Regions from separate parts of the Homo sapiens genome. Here region 2 is linked to region 1. The links are contacts of gene promoters, found by promoter capture Hi-C in human tissues and cell types (Jung and others, 2019). All regions are on one chromosome and are shown on one strand. The core of a region is centred on a gene start or on the middle of the fragment in contact, and the rest is flanking DNA. Distances in the headings are between cores, read along the strand shown. Region 1 holds the start of ZZEF1 (zinc finger ZZ-type and EF-hand domain containing 1). Region 2 holds the start of SCIMP (SLP adaptor and CSK interacting membrane protein).

The links. The method cuts DNA at HindIII sites, captures the fragments that hold promoters and counts their contacts. A contact is called where the count stands out against the background at its distance.
Region 2: the fragment with the promoter of SCIMP here is called in contact with the fragment with the promoter of ZZEF1 in region 1 in 1 of the 25 tissues and cell types used here (small bowel).

What each region holds. Positions count from the first base shown.
Region 1 is chr17:4,139,555-4,144,355 of GRCh38, reverse strand. It overlaps ZZEF1 (zinc finger ZZ-type and EF-hand domain containing 1), which reads left to right and starts at 1,326. Exons shown (of 55, transcript NM_015113.4): 1 at 1,326-1,814. The coding sequence starts at 1,461. It overlaps CYB5D2 (cytochrome b5 domain containing 2), which reads right to left and starts at 1,159. Exons shown (of 4, transcript NM_144611.4): 1 at 351-1,159. The coding sequence starts at 600. RefSeq lists enhancers at 311-890, 461-1,013, 1,041-1,350, 1,014-1,565 and a silencer at 1,431-1,600. The HindIII fragment of the contact is 20,801 bases long and covers 1-4,801 here.
Region 2 is chr17:5,232,543-5,237,890 of GRCh38, reverse strand. It overlaps SCIMP (SLP adaptor and CSK interacting membrane protein), which reads left to right and starts at 3,031. Exons shown (of 5, transcript NM_207103.3): 1 at 3,031-3,156. The coding sequence starts at 3,136. ZNF594-DT (ZNF594 divergent transcript) reads right to left here. Exons shown (of 6, transcript NR_152840.1): 6 at 1,888-2,777. RefSeq lists enhancers at 345-644, 2,590-2,789. The HindIII fragment of the contact is 19,973 bases long and covers 1-5,348 here.

The DNA.
Region 1 (4,801 bases), core at 77-2,576:
GGGCGGGATCTCGTTTATCTGTGCCCTAAGAGCCCCCACAAAAGTCCGGCACACAGCCCGTATCCTAGGGCTTCCGACGCTGGGTAATGGGTAACAAGAGACAGAAGACATGTTTCTCCAATGTAAGTCACGCAGGGCGGTGGTGGATGACAGAGCTGGCCCACAGTCCCGCCAGAGCCAGAGAGCCTAGAAGGATAGTGCATGCAGCTCGTCCCGCCCACCGCACGGGTTTGATGGATGTGGGGTGGGGATGGGGGGGGAAATAGATGAATAATGAACCAACGAACGACGCGCAGGTGGCTACTGGCTCGCGCCAGCGGAGAGAAAGGCGTGAGCAGCCTCGCTGATACCTGCGAAGCCGCTATAGTGGGACCCAGGCTCGTAGTGCCTCCGGCCGGAGGACACATCGTAGACACGGCCGAGCAACGCCAAGTACAGGCCCGGGTCCCCTGGGCCGCCGCGGTAGCGAGACAGCTCCTCCGGTATGAAAAGGCGAAAGCCAGCGCGGGGACCCCACCAGCCCATAAGCCGTGCTGCCATTACCGCTGCTGCGGCTACAGCCAGGCCCAACAAAAGCCCACGGCCTCCGCACCTCAACATCTATATAGGCCCACCCGCTCCGCACTTCCGAGGTTGCCGCCTCTATCTACAGCTAAGATGGCCGAGACGCCGAGCGTGACGTCATCGGCGCGCGCGCTCTCGCTCTCTCTCTCGCGCGCTAGTGCTCGCGCTCCCTCCCTTAGTCTCTCTCGTTTTATCTGTATTCCTGGCACTGGCGAAAAGCTCGCTGTCTGCGACTTTTTCCAGGTACTTTTTTTTTTTTTTTCTGAGACAGAGTTTTAGCTCTTGTTGTCCAGGCTGGAGTGCACTGGCGGAATCTCGGCTCACTGCAACCTCCGCCTCCCGGGTTCAAGCGATTCTCCTGCCTCAGCCTCCCAAGTAGCTGGGATTACAGGCACGCGCCCCCACGTCCGGCTAATATTTTGTATTTAGTAGAGACAGGGTTTCACCACGTTGGTCAGGCTGGTCTCGAACTCCTGACCTCAGGTGATCCACCCGTCTCGGCCTCCCAAAGTGCTGGGATTACAGGCGTGAGCCACCGCGCCTGGCCCTTCTCGTACTTCTTGGCTTGCAGGTTGTCAGCCCCAACAAAGATGGCGGCAGCGGAGGCTACGGAATGACGTAGATACTGAGACAGACTCGTCCTCTGGGAAATCAAGGTTGCACCCTTTGAGGCGGCGCTCCCCGCCTAGCTGTCGTGAGTTGGTAGAGGCCGCCTATCTACGTGACGGCGCCTTTGCGACAGCGGTCGTCGCTTGACGGCCAGGAAGCCGGAAGCCGCAGGGGCCGCCGTCGTCTCCTCCGCGTCCCCGCCCGCCAGCTGCTGTCGGAGGTTGACAGGTCGAGGCGGGGAGGCGGCGGCGGCGGCTGCAGAGCCAGGCGCCCAAGACGGAGACCCCATGGGGAACGCTCCGAGTCACAGCAGTGAAGACGAAGCGGCAGCTGCCGGTGGCGAGGGCTGGGGCCCACACCAGGACTGGGCCGCGGTCTCGGGCACGACCCCCGGCCCGGGCGTCGCGGCTCCAGCGCTACCACCCGCCGCGGCGCTGCTGGAGCCGGCCAGGCTGCGAGAGGCTGCTGCAGCGTTGCTGCCCACACCCCCCTGCGAGTCGCTGGTGTCGAGGCATCGCGGCGCGTTGTTTCGCTGGCTGGAAGAGCGGCTGGGCCGCGGCGAAGAGTCTGTCACTCTGGAGCAGTTCCGGGAGCTGCTGGAGGCTCGCGGCGCCGGCTGCTCTAGCGAGCAGTTCGAGGAGGTCAGGGCCGGCAGGCGACTGCGGGGATGGGGCAGGGCGGTCGCCCCCAGGGGACTGAAGGAAGAGGTGGGCATTTGCTTTGGAGAGGCCAGGCGGGGACCCATATGAGGTGTTTCCAGCTTTTCACCAGGCGTTTGCTTCGTTTCTCTTTAACCTATGTTAGAGGTCTGGAAAGTCTGCATCAGGCCGTCCTTGCTCTGAAGAGCTGGACAAGCCCATATGTCTCTCTCTGTATGTTGTAATGCAGACCTTTGTGCAGTTGATTGACGCTACTCTGGAGATCTTCTATCAGATTCTCGAACAGTTTGGAGAGAAAAGAGATGTAAGGATAGGAGGAGTGGCGCTGAGAACCATTTTTTGTATTGTCCTGTCCAGGTTTTTACACAGCACCTTCCCAATTCAGTGTGGGCGCCGAATAAGTGTGGAAAGACAGTAGTAACATGCTGGAAAGGCTCACATTCTAAAACCTATCCTCCTCATGCAAAAACTAGCTTTTCTAAAATACATACTGGTTTGTAGATCCTTAAAGAACCATATATTAGACTCATTTAAACCTTCATAGGATCCGAAACTGATAGGCAAATACCAGGTTTCCTGTGAATACTTGTAATTATGCAGTTCTTCATATAATCACCAAGATCATGTCTGCTAAGTCATTAAGAGAGCAAATTGATTTGGCAACAAAATATTTTCCTTGGAAGGCATTTTGGGAGTTTATTTACTGGGCGCTTCACTTCGAGTTAAGAAGACTGATCCAGGGTTACCCAGTGAATCATTAGTAAAACAGACTATCAACTAGATCTCTTGCTTTTTTTTTTTTTCTTTCTTTCAACTTTTATTTTAAATTCAGGCGTACATGTGCAGGATTTGGATTTGCAGATGTATTACATAGGTAAACGTGTGCCATGGTGGTTTACTCCACACAGCATCCCATCACCCAGGTATTAAGCCCAGCATCCATTAGGTATTCTTCCTGATGCTCTCTCTCCCTCCACCCGCACCCTATTTTTTGTTTTTAATGTCTCACTACCTCCTTCCTGGGATCCTATTTCTTTTAACACCACGGTATGACCAAAAAGGTACTTATTTTGTGAAAATGAGTTAGCCAGTCATGTAGAATCTTCAGTGGCCACGAAGGGTGTGTACATAAAGCAGTAAACCAGCGGGTACTTGCAGTGCCTTTAAAAGGTTCTGTTCACCTTAAAATCAGAGGCTTTTAAAATATTTTAAGAATGTCTTCCTGTACATGGCCAGAATTCAGATAATGTAGTTTGTGTGTTTCTTATGAAAAAAGTACCTTTAAGGCATCCCAACCCTTAAAAATAATAGTCATGGCTGGGCGCAGTGGCTCACGCCTGTAATCCCAGCACTTTGGGAGGCTGAGGCGGGAGGATCATCTGAGGTCAGGAATTCAAGACCAGCCTGGCCAACGTGGTGAAACCCCACCTCTACTAAAAATACAAAAATTAGCTGGGCATGGTGGCGGGTGCCTGTAATCCCAGCTACTTGGGAGGCTGAGGTGGGACAACCGCTTGAACCCAGGAGGCGGAGGTTGCAGTGAGCTGAGATCACGCCACTGCATTCCAGCCTGGGCCTCAGAGCGATACTCTGTCTCAAAAAAAAAAAAAAAAGTCATATTAGTTAGTGAAAGATCTCCTTTTTTTTTCCCCCCAGGAATACACATAGTACCTTCTTTCTAGTATCTACGCGTATTATGAGAATATGAAGTAGTAGTGGGAAGAACCATGCAGAACTGTTGAAGGAGATGGCACTTTGCAGATTTGAGCAAAGGCAAATGGAGAGAAACACCGTTTACATTCTGAGAGTTTCTGACAGAAATAGAACTTTATGTAGAGTTCATAGGAGTCCCTTAATAGAAGGTCAAGAAATACTTGAGGTGTGGTCCAGAAATCACTCAGGGGTTGTGGCATTATTGTTCACTGAGCAAATGTTTATTGGGCGTATATCGAGTGCCACTCACTTGGATGACAGTGGACAAAGCAGATACTTGCTCTTAAAGAGTATGTAGTTGTGGTGGAAGAGACAGGTATTAACCCATTAATTATAAGATATGGTGAGTGTTAACCGAGGGGGAAGGTATAAGGAATAAATAGCAAGTGTATTTAACCTCACTTGGGGCTCAAGCAAGACTTACCTGAGAAGGTAACATTTCAGCCCACAGGTGAATGGTGAAAGCAGATAGTGTTACAGGAGGTAGTAACAGCGTTTCAGGCAGAGGAAATTGTATCCACAAAAGTTCAAAGTCCAGAGAATCTGGAAGAAGTCTGGTGTGGTGTATTAGGGATACACAAAACTTTTTCAAGGGACAGAAAACCTAATGCATCAGTGGTTTAAACATAAAAAGAAGCTGCTTCCTTATGAAAATGTCCAGGTAGGCAGTCCAAGATTGATGTGGCAGTGTTGTCATCATCAGGGACCTGGCTTCGTCCATCTTGTGCTGTCATCCTCCACGGACATCTTCCACTTAGTAATTCTGTTGACTCCTGCTGTCATTTTCCACATTCCAACAAGCAAGAAAGGGAAAAGGGAAGGAGAAGGAAGAAGCCATGCCCACTCTCTTACGGGCATAGCTTACATCCCACAGGCCAAAATTCAGTCACATGGCCGCAGTTACCTGCAGGACAGGCTGGGAAAGATTCTTTTTCCGTGGCCATATATTCAGCTAAAACTCAGGGCTTAATTATTGAGGAAGGGGAGAGAAAACATTGAGTTATATTTGGCAGTCTTTGATTCACATAGCTAGGTCATACAGTTCTGTGAGTGAGGCTTAGCCAAGGTTTAAAAACCTGATTGTGATAATCTCACAGTGGCCACCGTCTCTCATGATAATCTTGTGATGGCTGCTCTGTCTGTAAGAACTAGTAAGTTAGGACTAGCCAAAGAAGATAAGATTTAGCCATGCATTTGATTCTGTGCTTTAAGAATGTCTATCCTTAGACTTGAATAAGTATATACTTTTGTGCATA
Region 2 (5,348 bases), core at 1,782-4,281, 1.1 Mb before region 1:
GAGTCATGAGATGAAGGGTGGACTGGAATCCCTTCTGAGTGTCCTCTAGCCTGATGGTCTCTGTAGCTTTAAGAGGTGAACATCTTGTGTGTCCAGCCATCCCTACGGGGAGGTCAGAGGGACCAGAATCCTGAGGAGAAAGCACCACAGGTGACCACTAGAGGGTGCCCTTCATTCTCCTTGACACCCTCTGGTCCAGCCGCTAATCTAGGGCCCTCAGGGACCTCTTTAGTTGCCCAGACCAGCAGGTGGCATTTCAGATGTGCAGAAAGAACACAACCGCCCCAACTTCCTGCCCTCCTCTTGTGGTGGAAAGACAAATGGTGGAGTCGGGGAAGAATGTAGATAGCAAGGAAGTGGGTAGATCCAGATGCCGTGGTGTGTGTCCCTAAACTTTGCTCTCAAGCCTCTGACTGCCCAACACATTCACTCTTGATCAGCCATGCAACCATCTCTTTCTCTCCAAATACTATGGCTGCTTTGTGTCTGTCCACATTCTGTCCATTTGGTGAGCTCCTACACATCCTTCAAGGCCCAGTTCAAATGCTACCACTCAGACCCTTTCTTCTCTCCCACTTTTGTGCTTCCACAGCACTAGCATTCATCACTTTGCATAGTAATAACTTATGTGCCTTCTGTCCTGTAGAACATGTGCCATGTGCTCTACCCATGAATGACTTGCCCAGTTCTGAGTCTCTACTTGTTGAGCACAGGGTCTGGCACAAATTGAAGGTCATTGTATTTAGCCTGCATCATATTATGGCTTCAACTTCCTCCTACACTTTGCGGGACTTTCTTGAAGGCAGATGGCAAAATCCCTGGAGCACTTTCATATTTGTCAATTGAATTCTTTCATTTTACAACAAGGAAACTGAGGCTCAGAGAAGGGAAGGATTCACAAAGAAAGTTTTGTCAAACCGGGCCTGGAATTCTGATCACCTGACACCTCAGGCTTGAACTTGCTGTGCAAAAGGCATTGTTAGAAATAGTAGGGCTACAGAGTTTACTATATCACAGCTGAACTGAGGTCCTTAAAGGTTAGCAAAATAATTTATTGAGTAATTTATTGAATGAATGAATGAAACACAAACCAAGAAGTCACAGCTTTGTTAGCCTAGGATGAGCTCTATCCACAGAAGCATTTATTCACCCCTCAGAAGAGAATTTTTTTTTTTTTTTTTTTTGAGACGGAGTGTTGCTCTGTCACCCCGGCTGGAGTGCAGTGGCTCGATCTCGGCTCACTGCAACCTCCGCCTCCCAGGTTCAAGCGATTCTTCTGCCTCAGCCTCCCAAGTAGCTGGGACTACAGGCACCTGCCACCATGCCTGGCTAATTTTTGTATTTTTAGTAGAGACGGGATTTCACCATGTTGGCCAGGCTGGTCTCAAACGCCTGACCTCATGATCCGCCTGCCTTGGCCTCCCAAAGTGCTGGGATTTCAGGCGTGAGCCACTGTGCCCGGCCTAGAAGAAAATTTTAAATTGGCTTTTAGGAAGGTTTTTTAGCAGCTAAACTTTGGATGAGCCTAAGAAGAAAGAGTTCAGGCCTTGGCCAGGTGCAGTGGCTCAACTCTGTAATCCCAGCACTTTGGGAGGCCGAGGCAGGTGGATCACTTGAGGTCAGGAGTTCGAGACCAGCCTGGCCAACATGGTGAAACCCTGTCTCTACTAAAAATACAAAGATTAGCCGGATGCGGTGGCACACACCTGTAGTCCCAGCTACTTGGGAGGCTGAGGCAGGAGAATTGCTTGAACCTGGGAGTCGGAGGTTGCAGTGTGCTGAGATTGAGCCACTGCACTCCAGCCTGGCGACAGAGTGAGACTGCATCTCAAAAAAAAAAAAAAAAAAGAAAGAAAGAAAGAAAAAGAAAAAAGAAATTAGTAAACACTGCAAATCAGGAATCTTCTGAGCCAGATGTTTTGTTTTGTTTGTTTGAGATAGAGTCTTGCTCTGTTGCCCAGGCTGGAGCGCAATGGTGTGATCTTGGCTCACTGCAACCTCCACCTCGCGGGTCCAAGCAATTCTCCCGCCTCAGCCTCCTGAGTAGCTGGGACTACCGGTTCACACCAAAATGCCCAGCTAATTTTTGTATTTTTAGTAGAGATGGGGTTTCACCATGTTGGCCAGGCTGGTCTCGAACTACTGACTTCAGGTGATCCACCCGCCTTGGCCTCCCAAAGTGCTGGGATTACAGGTGTGAGCCACCGCACCCAGCCAGAGCCCGGTGTTTGTTAAATTTACCAGACATATATCAGACATTATCAGATATTTATCAGACATATCTGGTTATCATTATTACTGAAATGGATAACAACTCATTCGCTCTGGGCAAATACAATGCACATCCGTTTGCCTATTTTTACTAATGTGACTGCTCATTTGAGTCAGAACCAGCCAATTCAACAAAATGGCTAATTGGTTTCCCCACTCCAACCCCCATGGTCAGAGGCCGTGGGCCTCGCTGGGAGTTCTGTCTCACAGTATTGCACGAGGGGACCCAACTCAGTCAAAATGCTCCACTGGCCACATTTCTCAAGGTCGCCACTCACACGCCTTTAGAAACAGGAAGCCTGTCCCTTGCCTCCTCCAAGCAGAAGATGTCTCAGCAGTTCCAAGGTGCACAGGAGCTTTCAAGAGTCACCTTCATGGTGAGATGGTGAGTTTGTCACACATGAGCTGGTTTCTTACCTGGATCTGTCTCTGCATGGGAGCTGGCGTCCTGTCGCTCTTCTTGAGACTGAGGTTGCCACATCCAGGAATGCTCACGGCAAACTCGTCTGTGGGGACACCAAACCCACCCCCACTGCCAAGTCTCCACCCTGGCCCCTGGCCCCTGCCAGGACCCCCTACCACACCATGAGGGTCCTCTGGTAGGCCTTGCGGGAGCGACACGGGGCAGTGAGAAGATTCTGGCTTCTGGACAGCCGTGGGTCATGAGCTTCCCTGGAAAAGGGATGGTTGCCTAGAGATGACGCCAGGGTCTCTGCCCCGTGGGCTGACTAGAAAGGGGAAGTGGTCAGGATGGGGCTCACTGTCTCTAGCAGTGGGTGAAGGCCTGTGAGTGAGGAATGCCTCTCACCAGCTGTGCCTGAGCTGCAGCACTCCAGCCACTGCTGTCTCCTTAGCTGCTCACATATGGATACTTTCACAGTTCAGGTAAGCATCTCAGCTTTCCAAGGGACAGTTTCCTGCTCTCTTCACAGCAGACATCTGCCAGCGCTGGCATCAGGGCGTGTCCCTGGGAGCCACCGATCAGCACTGGGCCAGGGGATTGCAGCCTGGGGCCCTGGTACGACTGCTGTGTAGGGTTGGAGAAAAACTTGCATTGAAGGATCTGCTCTACTGGTAACTGGCTGAGTGACCTGAGGCATCACTTCACCTCTCTGGGCCTTTTCCTCATGTGTATGTCAGGGGCGATGAAGAAGTCTACCTCTTGGATTGAAATGAGATAATGACCGGGAGTGAGAGGTCTCAACTGTAACGAGTTACTCTCACTTTCTGGATGCCGATGGTGTGTTTTGGGACTTGTTATGTGAGAAGACTGTCATGGTGCTATGCTGGAGGTGGGGGTGGGAGCGAGGCACTGACTGTGTCAATTTATTTATTTTTATTTTATTTTGAGATGGAGTTTCGCTCTTGTCGCCCAGGCTGGAGTGCAGTGACGTGATCTCGGCTCACTGCAACCACCGCCTCCCGGGTTCAAGCGATTCTCCTGCCTCAGCCTCCTGAGTAGCTGGGATTACAGGCACCCGCCACCACACCTGGCTAATTTCTGTATTTTTAGTAGAGACGGAGTTTCACCATGTTGGCCAGGCTGCTCTCGAACTCCTGACCTCAGGTGATCCGCCCGCCTCGGCCTCCCAAAGTGCTGGGATTACCGTAGCATGAATTTAGGCTACGTCTTGGGGCTCTTGGATGAAAGACCTGGATCACCTCCAGTCTTGGTACCTTTGTCATTGCATCTCTGGCTTTCAGTAGTTCATTAGGCACCTTCCCTTCCAGAGGCCTCGAGATCAAAGTGTGTTGGGCTGGCGTGAGTTCTCGGTGTAGCCATCTGCTTTTGCCCTCTGGAAAATTATTTTGAGAAGAGATCTGGGTTTGGCTTTGCCATATCCACTCCCACTGCCTGGTGTGTCCACTTGTCCCTGAGGTCTTGGCCATGAAGCAATGTGGAGCACAGGCTTCACTCTGCTTCAGTGGTAAATAACTACTGAGAGGCAGGCGGGGCATGGTGGCTCACGCCTCTAATCCCAGCACTTTGGGAGGCCAAGGTGGGCAGATCACAAGGTCAAGAGATCAAGACCAGCCTGGCCAACATGGTGAAACCCTGTCTCTACTACAAATACAAAAATTAGCTGGGCATGGTGGTGGGCGCCTATAGCCCCAGCTACTCGGGAAGCTGAGGCAGGAGAATCGTTTGAGCCCGGGAGGTGGAGGTTGCAGTGAGCCAAGATTATGTCACTGCACTCCAGCCTGGTGACAGAGCAAGACTCCATCTCAAAAACAAACAAACAAACTACTGAGAGGCTTAAAGCAAGGAAGGGACAGGGTCACACTGGTATTTGGCAGCCAGTGGGGAGCCCAGTGGGGGCTAGGGGCCAGCGAAAATGCAATGGTCCAGGTACAGAGATGAGGACTTGGACTACATTTGGAGGCTGATGGGCTGAAGCGGGGTGGGGATGGGGCCATGGGAGAAAGAGGAATGAGGCAAGGTTTCCGGTCTTTTCCAGAAGTGAAAGTATAGAGAAGGGAAGAAGAGAGGCTGGACTCCTTTTAATGACCCTGCCGTGCACTTCCCCATGCACACTTGGGTTTTAAGTTGCCAGTGACTATCCACATGGCCATTTCTGGTGCTGACATCAGTGAGAAGGACAAGTGGAGCGAGGCTCAGTGGCTCACGCCTGTAATCCCAGCACTTTGGGAGGCCGAGGCAGGTGGATCACTTGAGGTCAGGAGTTTGAGACCAGCCAGGCCAACATGGCAAAACCCCATCTCTACTAAAAATACACAAAAATTAGCCGGGTATGGTGGTGCGTGTCGGTAATCCCAGCTACTCAGGAGGCTGACACAGGAGAATAGCTTGAACCAGGAAGTAGAGGTTGCAGTGAGCTGAGATTGCACCAGTGGAGTCTAGCCTGGGTGACAGAGCAAGACGCCATCTCAAAAAAAAAAAAAGAAGAAGAACGAGTGGGAACAAGGCCTCACTTAGCATGAACAGCAACAGTCGGGGAATTAGAGGTGAACTGGGGCAAGAACTGCTCATGCCAACCGGCCTAAATGTTCTCTACAGCCTCTCAGACCCTCGAGATCTAGACTGAGATTAGTTCGAACCCTCATTCCAGGCCTGC